Regions from separate parts of the Homo sapiens genome. Here regions 1, 2 and 4 are each linked to region 3. The links are contacts of gene promoters, found by promoter capture Hi-C in human tissues and cell types (Jung and others, 2019). All regions are on one chromosome and are shown on one strand. The core of a region is centred on a gene start or on the middle of the fragment in contact, and the rest is flanking DNA. Distances in the headings are between cores, read along the strand shown.

Region 1 (2,700 bases), core at 134-2,633, 140 kb after region 3:
GCAGAGGTGGGAAGATTGCTTGAGCACAGGAGGTCAAGACTGTAGTGAACCATGATTGCACCACTGCACTCCAGCCTGGACAACAGAGCAGGATCCTGTCTCGAAAGAAAGAAGAAAAATTTTTAAAAGACAAACAGAGCAAGATCCTGTCTCAAAAGAAAGAAAGAAAGAAACATTTTTAAAAGACCATGAGGATAGAAATATTAACAAACATTTATTGGGGGCTTATTAAGTGATCAGCCCTATTCTGAATGCTTTTACAGATGTACTCTTATGCTTACAGTTACTCTATGATGTTATTATCCCTATTCTGTAGGTTAAAAAGTTAGGTCATAGAAATGCTAAAGATTTTATTGCAGGTCTCATGATTAGTGAGTGTTCTGCTGAAAAAGAAAAAAAATAAAGCTAGTGAATTGATTTGTCAATGATCATTTAGTGTTTTTCTTGATGGCCACAGTTTTGTTTTGTGTTGTTTCCCCCCTACTTTTTTTTTTTTTTTGAGACAGTCTCTCTCTGTTGCCCAGGCTGGAGTGCGATCGTAGCTCACTGCAGCCTTGAACTCCTGACCTCAAGCGATTCTTCCACCTCAGCCTCCTTAGTAGCTGGGACTTCAAGGGTGTGCCACCAGTTGGCTAATTTTTTTATTTTTATTTTCATAGAGATGGAGTCTAACTATGTTGCCCAGGTTGTAGCCACAGTTGTTTTTTTTTTTTACATCATCCACTGGATAATACACATTGGGAACTGTTACTGTGTTATACTTGGATGCCATTATTTTTTAAAAATTCTCTGTAAGAATGTCCTATCCTTCTTAAATTATTTCTATAAATCTTTTTTCCAGTTAACACTTCTAATTTGTATTAGCATTGGCTTTGTTCATATTTTTTCCCTGAAAACTTAAAAATACTAAATTGTAATGTGGACAGGGACCACCTTGCACGAATGATCAGATGTCTGCTTTTTTCTTTTGCAGGCAATGATGAGCAAGTTATCCTCCATGATGTTGAAAGGTAAATAGATTGGTGGTGTGTGAAGGTGATTGACTTTGTTTTTCATATATGAAGAGGCAAATATCTCTTTAGACTAAAATAGTTTTTGTTTTTTGAAAAAAACAACATGAAACCAGCTGTTCTTTTCTAAAAAAATTCCTACAATAGTTTGAAATAAATAAAGTTTTGATTTAAAAAGGAAAAAGGGATTTGAAAGTTTTGAAAGTTGGTATGAGAGTGTACTTTTTAGGTGAAAATTTAAAACAAGAGTTTAGAAGAGAAGGAACCATAATATTTAAGAACAGTAATAGCTAATATTGATTGAGTTCTTACTATGTGCCAGACACCATTGTAAATGCTTTGTACATATTCATTCATTTAATCCTCACACTCATTTTCTGAGGAGATACTATTGTCATCTCCGTTCTAGATCAGGAAACGGAGTCACAGACATGTTAGATAACAGAAGGTCAGGTGGTACTAAAACCTGAACTTAGGCTATCTGGCCTCAGAGCCATGCTCTTCATCACCATGCCAGATTGCTAGGAGACCCCTCTCCCATCCTGTAGGCATCAGACTTGGCTGCTTTAAAGCTTTCCCTTGCTTTTTGAAAATCAAGTATGACCCCCAAATCTGTACACAAGCAGATGCATTCTGTAATAAATGAAAATACAAAACTCAGCTATTGAGTCACTTTTAAATATGCTTATTTAGCACAAAAATTATAAAATCTCTAAAAAGACTCCTTAATAGTACCTTTTTTTTAACCTGAAAGTTGACTACCTACCTTTCAGGAAATATAATATTTTTTGGGTTTAGCTAGGTTGACTTTCTTCTAGAAATGGAAAAGATGGCACCCTCGGTACCAAAGTGCTGGGACTCTGCACTATGCTTGTGTGTATGTGTGTGCCTCTGTCTTGCTCTCTTATCTCCCAGCAGTGAGACATTGGACGTGTTTGCTCATGAAGATGCAGTATATGGCTTGTCTGTGAGCCCAGTGAATGACAACATTTTTGCCAGTTCCTCAGATGATGGCCGGGTTCTCATTTGGGACATTCGGGAATCCCCCCATGGAGGTAGGCTCACTGTGCAAATGACTGTTGGACTGTGTTGAACAGTTTGATGTCAGATTCATTGAAGATCCAATTTATTACCTCAGTATCTATGTGCAAGTGATGTCAAGGGAAAGGAAATGTGAAACACTCACATGGGGGCATAAGAGGTCTTTGGAGGCCTTATCCTCCACCTAAATACTCAGGAGTGAGGCACCTTTGCCAGTCCTTCTCCACCCTCCTGTGACTCTCCACAAACCCTTGTACTTTGGTGTTTAGTGCCCCAAGGAGCAGAAGTTGTGGTGCTGACATGTAACTATTCTTGATTATTTACAGAGAATGGGGGCGTTATGCACTTTCCTGCATCCTAGTTTCAGGCTTGTTATTTTGTTGAAAGAACCACCGAATCTCAAATTACCTGTGTATAGGATCTTAAAATGATGGCAAATAAACTCTGTTTAAAGGGGATTGTCGTGTGAGTGCCTCCTCTGAATGTGCCCTTTGACTCTCTGATGTGTGAAATGAAGAAGTTGCTTTGTTGACTTTCTCTGAAGTTCTTCAGGAAATGCATCTTCTCAGCTCATTTCCTACAGAGAGATTTCTGTAATTCTACCTGTCTTCAAAAGGCCCCTTCCTCTAGTACCAGCCTTAGTGCCACT
Region 2 (2,700 bases), core at 21-2,520, 140 kb before region 3:
TTACCATAAGAGGGTAAGAGCAATGTACCAGACAATATAAAAGTCCTTAAAAATGTAACATTGTTAAATCTACTTCAAAGAGAACCTATTGTAGAGGCAGAAGCATACTGAATAAATCTGTTCTTCAGACACAATAAACCTTTGATTTGCGGGTAACTCAAACCCCTAAAGATACTTATTATGAATGAGTCAGTTATTATAATCAGACACTGATATGGTTTGGTTGTGTCCCCACCCAAATCTCATCTTGAGTTGTAGTTCCCATGCGAGGGACCTGGTGGGAGGTCATGCTGTTCTTGTGATAGTGAGTTCTTGCTGTTCTTGTGACAGTGAGTTCTCACGAGATCTGATGGTTTTATAAGGGGCTTTCCCCCTTTTGCTCAGCACTTCTCCATCCTGCCGCCCCATGAAGAAGGATGTGTTTGCCTCCTCTTCTGCCATGATTGTAAGTTTCCTTAGGCCTCCCCAGCTATGCTGAATTGTGAGTCAATCAAACCTCTTTCGTTTATAAATTACCCAGTCTCAGAAATGTCTTTATTAGCAGTGTAAGAATGGACTAATACAGACACAAAACTTTAAAACACGAAAGAACAAAACAAAGCTTAAAATGAGAGTAAGTATAATGAAGAAAAGAGAGTTAAATACTAAGAAAAATAGTATAAAGCAGGGAGGGTAGAGGAAAAGCCCTGGCCTCTCCAAATAGAATGGTAAATAGTAATGCAAACCAAACCCCACAACAAGACCTTTGGATTCCAAACAAATTGCCGAGAAGTTTCCATGACTGCGAAGGGGAGGAGGGGGAGGAGCTTCCCATTATTAAGTCTGTTTCCAAATAAAAGGTTTAACAATTATAAATTAGAACAAAGTTATAAAAATGAAAATCTTTACAAGTTTTTCTAATCAGTATTGAGAATCTGCCTCAATATTTTTGAAAGTTTTTATTATGTTCTAGACATAGTGTTAAGCCTGTGCTTATATTATTTCAACCTCACAACAATCCTAGAAGGTCATTTAACAGAAGAGATTTGGATTTTAATAGCTTGTTCAAGTAGTAACATTGACTTTGAATGATACTGTCTCAGACAGTCCCTTTTGAAATCAGTGCATTATTAATCATATTCATCTTTAAAATCATCCTAAGAATAGCACTACTTTCATCTGCCAACTTATGGATTTATGCTGTTGGTTATTTTAGGGAGTAGGTCTCCTTATGTTGCCAGTGGCTATTCACAGGCACACTCATAGCTCACTGCAACCCTGAACTCCTGGGCTCAAGTGATCCTCCCACATCAGCATTTGGAGTAGCTGGGACTAACCAGTGTGTGCCACTACATCCAGTTTTGCTGTTTTTGTTTGTTTGTTTTTTGTTTTTTTGAGAGGGAGTTTTGCTCTTGCTGCCCAGGCTGGAGTGCAATGGCGCAATGTTGGTTCACTGCAACCTCCGCCTCCCAGGTTCAAGCGATTCTCCTGCCTCAGCCCCCCAAGTAGCTGGGATTACAGGCACGTGCCACCACGCCCAAATAATTTTGTATTTTCAGTAGACACAGGGTTTCTCCGTGTTGGTCAGGGTGGTCTCGAACTCCCGACCTCAGATGATTCGCCTGCCTCGGCCTCCCAAAGTGCTGGGATTACAGGCGTGAGCCACCACGCCTGGCCTGCTTTGCTGTTTTAATACATGAAAAATGTGGCATTATAACTCAAACTGGTCTGCAATAAGAAAAGTATGGCAACTGAGATAAAGCCTTCAGAAATTTTTAGAGCAATATGATTATTACAATTATAGTAGTAATTTTTTATCTGTTGAATTTAACAATACATTTGGGCTTGTATTTTCTATGTCTTTTTTTCACTTCATTTTCCTACTATTTCATTTTTATAAGTGTATTGGTATGGATTGAAATAAAAATTAAAAACAAAAACTGATCCTTTACCAGGCAGTTTGAGGAATATTGCTGTAGAGCTCTGAGCCAAAAACAGCTTGCTCTCTGTTACCAGCTCTGTGACAAAGAGGAGACATACTCAGGTGAGTAACAACCCTCAGATAATCAATCTGAAATCCCACTTGAGCCATCTGTTTTTGTATCATAGCTCCATTTATCAACTGCAGCAGCACTGAGTTTATACTAGGTAATATAGGCTCTCAACCTACTTATGTAACATTGTTATTTAGAGCCAAAGAAAACTACTCATTAGCAATTCAATCGAAAAAACATAAGACAGTGTTAACTATAAACCAACGGGTCTCACTCCCTTACCAAACAGGGCTTCCTTTGTGTAAAGCATGCTTTGGCCTCCTTTATTTATTTATTTTTATTTATTTATTTTTATTTTTTTCTGAGACAAAGTTTTGCTCTTGTTCCCCAGGCTGGAGTGCAATGGTGGGACTCGGCTCACTGCAACCTCCGCCTCCTGGGTTCAAGCAATTCTCCTGTCTCAGCCTCCTGAGTAGCTGGGATTACAGGCACATGCCACCACGCCCAGCTAATTTTTGTATTTTTAGTAGAGATGGGGTTTCGCCATGTTGGCCAGGCTGGTCTCGAACTCCTGACCTCAGGTAATCCGCCCACCTCAGCCTCCCAAAGTGCTGGGATTACAGGCGTGAGCCACTTAGCACCTGGCTGGCCTCCTTTAAAAGTTAAAAGTGTTTCTCTTTCCTGTATACTGAAAAAATTTACATCCTGATTATCATAGTTACTTATA
Region 3 (2,700 bases), core at 69-2,568:
CTGGTAGTTCCCGAGGGTCGTCCGAGGCTCTCGTCCACCAACCGCCCCCGTCTGGAAGAATGCGCCCGCTCGAGCGCACTCTCGGCGGGTGCCAAAGCCTCCCGCCTCAACAGGTGCCCCTGCCTGGCCACGCACAGCTCTGTCACCTGGGGCTCGGACGGAGACGGCGACAGGATCGCCCCCTGCAGGGCGGCTGCGGCTCCGCACGCCCCCGCCCGGGTCCCCAGAGCGCCAAGGGCCCCCGCAGCCCCGCCGCCGCCCCCGCTGTGCCACACTGCCTTTGTTTCCCTGCCCGCTTAGATGTCGCGAGGCTGACTTCATGCAAGGGTATCGCCAAGTTCGGGCGCTGACACTGCCCACCTACCCGTGGTGGCGGACCCTAAGGTTGGGAGTGAGAGACGCGTACAGTGCGAGACCTCTCCTCAACCCAGAGAACTCCGGGGAAGCTGGGTGTCCGCGCCGAAGAAGCGGGTTCAAGTTGACCCGGCTCAGAAGGGGGTTCGAAGCCAGGCGCAGCGCCTAGAGAGCCTTCCCCTACCCACGCCCCCACCCGATGTCCTCTGCCCCCAGAAGGCTGGAGAGGGGCTGCGCACTGCCACCTACGCGCTCGGCTGCGAGTGGTTCCCACCGCCCGCTCGCCGCGCGCTGGGCCCGGCAGCCTTCCGGGGCACACGAGGCTCCCGCAGCCCCCAGACTCCCGGCCCCGGCAGCGCAGAGCCGGGAGAGCCGCCACGTTCCCAGCCGCGCGCGCACGCCGGGCCCACCAAACTTGCAGCACTTTCTCCCAGCCCCCACCCTCTGTCACCCTCCCTTAGTCGGTGCGCCCCAGCCCCGCCGCCCGGCAGAGGTTGCCATAACAACGGGCAGGAATGCTCCAACATATACAAAGCCGGCCCGGCGCAGCGGGCACTCAGCCCTGGCCGGGCCCCGCGCCCTCGGCCGCCGCGCAGGGTCTGGACGCGCGCCGCGGCTCCCTAGCCGGCCGGCCGACGCTCGGGGCGTACTCACAATGAGCGGGATGGTGCGGTCCTCGCGGAGCTGCTCCGACCTCCTGCCTGCCCTCTGCGCGCCCCGGCCGCCGGAGGATGCTGCGTGGGCTCGGTTGTCCTGCCATAAGTAGTAGAAAGTGCCCAGGATCCAGGCTACGGTCAGGATGGCGATGGCATTGGCGCGGATCTTCCTCATGGTGGGCAGACGGGCGCCCCAGGTGGGGGACTGGGCCGGCGTGCTCTCGGGGCCGGGGCGGGGGCGCTCGCAGCCCCAGCTGTTTGTTTTCGCTCGCGCCTAGCTGCTCAGTCCTGCAGAGCAGAAAAAGGAGAGAGGTGGGGGGGCGGGGGGGTGATAGGGAGAGACAGGATCGCGGAGCGATCCTCACGGTCCTAATGCCCTTCAGCCCCGAGCGCGCGCGTCCCCCGGGCGCCCATTCATTCGTGCGCAGGGCCGGCCCCGCGCTCCAGCCGCCGCCGGCTGACCCACCAGGCCACTGCGCACTGGGAGAGAAGCGCGCCGAGTGGGAAGCGGCGCGGGCCTTCCTCCCGCGCCCGGGAACCCGGCGAGACAGACGCCCGCGGCGGAATGGCGACTGGCCAAAGCCAGCCTCGGCTCCCACCGCTAGGTGACCGAACGCCCGGCAGCTGCCCCCGCGCGGCCCTGGTCGGTCCTGCCGACCCACACCCACCCCCGGACCGAGCGGCCTTGAGTCACCGACTGGAGACGCGCGACCCCCGACCTGGGCCCGCGCCGCGAGCTGCAGTTCCGGGCTGCGCTCTGGCGCGGGATTCAAGGTGTGTTCGGCGAGTCCTTGTGTAGGGGCGGCTGGGCGGGGGAGAGTCCTGAGTTTGTACTGGAATCTGCAGCTGAGATTAGCCAGACCGGGCCCGCCCAGAGGAGGGATTGGAAGCTGGTGCACTTGACATTCGAAGAGCGCGAAGGGGAAACGACGCTGCCTCACACCCAGTGCTAGGAGAGTGCGGGTACGGCCCTTCCACATTTTTCGCTGGCCTGGGGCTCCCAGATTTCACGATGCTTCCCTCTATCCCGCCTCATTGACCCCTGGACAACCCTGAAATATCATCGTCAGCATTATTTCATCGGAAAGAAGGGCAGCAAGAGAGGCCGGATGATTCTCCCAAGGCCACACAGCTAATTAGTGGGCAGAGCCCAGTCTAGAAGCCATCTCACCATCTGACACCTTTCGACAAAGTGCAAAACGCGGTGGTGAGAGACGAGGACACAGACATTAAGATTCCGCTCCAGCCCTAGAGGCACTGAGAATCAGAACGTGAACTACTCTTCACTCCAGGCAGAAAGCAAGAGGCTTGGATGAGTTTTAGGAAACCAGCACAGTGTCGGGCACAGAGCGCTCAATGAATAGATGTGTAACAACAAAGTAGGGATCCAACAGAGGAAGAAATAATTTATTGTAAGGTGGCCTTTGGGAAAGCTCTCAGAAAGGTGGATGAATCACTTAAGAGGTAAGGAAGGGGGAGGTGAGGACAGGGGAGAGACTGCAGAAATAGGCCTTGCAAAAATCCAGAGGATGGAAGAGCTTGATGTGTTCAAGAGAGAGAGCTGCCAGGCGTTGCAGGGGGCCTAGGATTTGATAGGAGTTGAGGTTGGCCAGGCTGGGTGAGTCTGAACTCAGGAGGTCCTTGAATGCCGGGGCAGAGTTGTTGAGGAGTCTGCTTCCTGCTGGCACTG
Region 4 (2,700 bases), core at 52-2,551, 160 kb before region 3:
GCATCTGGTTACAGAAGTTTTTCTTCTGTGTTTATGATTGTTGTGGTGTGAGAGCACAGGAAAAACACGGTTAGAGAGAGTTTTTCTCTACACACAACCTAACACACGGTAGATAATTTTAGTCTTAAACTACACCTGGGCTGGGTGAGGTGTCTCACACCTGTAATCCCAGCACTTTGGGAGGCCAACTTGGGAGGATCGCTTGAGTCCCGGAATTGGCAACCAGCCTAGGCAACAGAAGGAGACTCTATCTCTACAAAAAAAAATTAAACATTAGTCAGGCATAGCAGTGTGCATCTATACTATAGTCCCAGCTACTCAGGAGGCTGAGGTGGGAGGATTGCTTAAACCCAAGAGATTTCAGCTGTGATGGCAAAACTGGACTATAGCCTGGGCGACAGAGTGAGACCATGTCTCAAAACAAACAAATAAAAAAAAAAACCCAAAACCCCCAACTATACCTGAAACAGGGTATGTAAATTATATCTCAAATTGATATTAAAAATAACACAAAGAAACTATACTTGAAGCACTTCTTTCCTCTACTCCAGTGTTTCTGAAACTTGTTTCATAAGAATTGCAGACAGCTTGTTAAAAATAGATATTCCCGGGATCCTTCCTGGAGGTCAGGAAATCATACTTTTAAAATGTGCCTCTTCCTCAAGGAATTTTCATTATCAGACAACTTTAGAAAACAACTGCCACCCATAAAAGGACAAATGTTAGGATAGTGATTTCTATAGTGGAATCACATCCCAGAAAAATTCAAGATGACCCACTAGAATATGAAAGAAAATACTGTTCTATGTATATTTAAATCTCAGGTCTCAAAAATATTCCTGTTTTAGGAGTGTATTTTATAATGTACACATTAAATCAGTGCAATAGTGCATGTAAATCATTCCTCCCTCCCTCTGTAGGATGTGTGACCATAAAAAAAGTAGAGACCACTGCTTTAAGGCTCCTGATTTATTACTGTTCCCCAATGCAGCTGACCACTCCTCAGCCCCTGTCCTATCTTGCAACACTTCTGCAATCCTCATTTATATCTGCCAAAACTCTTTGTCTATCAAACCCCAGGCCTAAGAGCATCACCATTCTGGATAAAGGACACAGTTCTTTTCCTCTACCAAGATCTGAAAAAGTATTTATTATATTGTATCTAGTAAGAAATTTGGAAGTGCCTACCTCTTTATACTATTCTTAACATCTGGTAGACTTGGTACTTGAGGATTCAGCTCATGGATTTAACAGCTGTGGTGTCAATCCTTCACAGGTAACTGTGAAGTTTCATGACATGTAGTAATCGGATTTTGCTAAGTCACAAATGTGAATCAAGTATGCTTTTCAGCTGTGTGAAGGACCAAATTACTTTGCTGGTGAGTAAGCCAAGCTGACCACCAAGCATTTACTCTCACACAGCTATACTGTTCCCTCTGCTTGTTGCTATTAGGGTCAGGAAAGGCCTCTTTAATTTTTTCAGTTATCCTTTACTGCATGGGTCCTCATCAATTATCTATAAAGTTTACTGTAAAGGGTCCTTAAATTTAAATATTTATATCTATATATTTTTAAATTAAACAAAAAATGCAGCCACTATCATGTGGGATTTGGGAAGTGTTTGAGTAAGCATTAAAAAAGAACTGTCATAACTTAAAATGACTCATTCATGCACTGTGGCAAATAAACATTAAGTGGTATTCATGAATTGGGACATTCAGTTGACAAACTGCTAAGGATGTGTCAATATCAAAGATATCAAGATATCTCTCAACAAATCTTCTCAGGGTAGAACTCTATGGTAAACATGAACTGTGCTCAGAAAACATACCACTAAGCTTCATCCTGCTAACCCTCCAAGTCAATAACATATCTCAAATAATGCTCTTCCCTTTCTCACCCTCAAGAATATCTTCATAAAGGGCATGTACTCCTTCAGGCACGATGACTGCCAGAGCAGTTCCACAGAGAAGGCCAGCACCCAAAACAGTCACCAGCTTCAGTCGTTCCTGGGGAGAAAGCAAAAGAAATAATTGCAAACTTTGATTAATTAATGGGAAAAAGTTTCTCAAGTATCTGTAATCAAGACTGTGAGCTGCTCATTTGTGAGACCAACATCTACAATAGACAGCGAAGATGAAAAATGATCAATTGCATGAGTAATGCCAAGTAAAACAAAGAGATGAATTTTTTTTTTTTTTTTTTTGAGACAGAATCTTGCTCTGTCGCTCAGGCTTGAGGCAGTGGCGTGGTCTCGGCTCACTGCAGCCTTCGCCTCCCAAGTTCCAGCGATTATCCTGCCTCAGCCTCCCGGGTAGCTGGGATTACAGGCGTGCACCACCACATCTGGCTAATTTTTGTATTTTCAGTAGAGACGGGGTTTCACCATGTTGCCCAGGCTGGTCTCCAACTCCTGACCTCAGGTGATCCGCCCGCTTCGGTCTCCCAGAGTGCTGAGATTACAAGCGTGAGCCACTGTGCCTGACTGAGATGAAATTTTTTAAATGACCAGGTTAACAATGATTTGGGAAAATGTCTACTATCCATGATAGGAAGAATGAGTACACTTTAATACTGGAAGGAATGTGAATTGCTACAACCTCTGGAGACTACAGTTTGGCATTTAGATTTAAAGCCTCAAAAATGTGAACTCTTTGATCCAGAAATTTTACTTCTAGAAATTCATCCTAAGAAAGAATT

The links. Contacts are between HindIII fragments. The study calls those that stand out against the background at their distance.
Region 1: a fragment that was not itself captured here is called in contact with the fragment with the promoter of GALNT16 in region 3 in 6 of the 25 tissues and cell types used here (H1 embryonic stem cells, heart right ventricle, liver and 3 more).
Region 2: a contact is called between a fragment that was not itself captured here and the fragment with the promoter of GALNT16 in region 3, in 11 of the 25 tissues and cell types used here (aorta, bladder, dorsolateral prefrontal cortex and 8 more).
Region 4: a contact is called between a fragment that was not itself captured here and the fragment with the promoter of GALNT16 in region 3, in 4 of the 25 tissues and cell types used here (adrenal gland, lymphoblastoid cells, mesenchymal stem cells and 1 more).

What each region holds. Positions count from the first base shown.
Region 1 is chr14:69,117,504-69,120,203 of GRCh38, reverse strand. It overlaps DCAF5 (DDB1 and CUL4 associated factor 5), which reads left to right. Exons shown (of 9, transcript NM_003861.3): 3 at 974-1,010; 4 at 1,926-2,065. Among named protein-coding and RNA genes, the nearest start is that of DCAF5, 34 kb to the left of the region's middle. The HindIII fragment of the contact is 7,416 bases long and covers 1-2,700 here.
Region 2 is chr14:69,402,718-69,405,417 of GRCh38, reverse strand. All of the region lies in intron 1 of SLC39A9 (solute carrier family 39 member 9), which reads right to left. Among named protein-coding and RNA genes, the nearest start is that of SLC39A9, 5.4 kb to the right of the region's middle. The HindIII fragment of the contact is 6,795 bases long and covers 1-2,700 here.
Region 3 is chr14:69,258,776-69,261,475 of GRCh38, reverse strand. GALNT16 (polypeptide N-acetylgalactosaminyltransferase 16) reads right to left here and starts at 1,318. Exons shown (of 15, transcript NM_001168368.2): 1 at 1,009-1,318. The coding sequence starts at 1,185. It overlaps GALNT16-AS1 (GALNT16 and EXD2 antisense RNA 1), which reads left to right and starts at 949. Exons shown (of 4, transcript NR_184249.1): 1 at 949-1,186. RefSeq lists a silencer at 213-272. The HindIII fragment of the contact is 13,760 bases long and covers 1-2,700 here.
Region 4 is chr14:69,423,403-69,426,102 of GRCh38, reverse strand. SLC39A9 (solute carrier family 39 member 9) reads right to left here. Exons shown (of 7, transcript NM_018375.5): 2 at 1,901-2,009. Among named protein-coding and RNA genes, the nearest start is that of SLC39A9, 26 kb to the right of the region's middle. The HindIII fragment of the contact is 3,966 bases long and covers 1-2,700 here.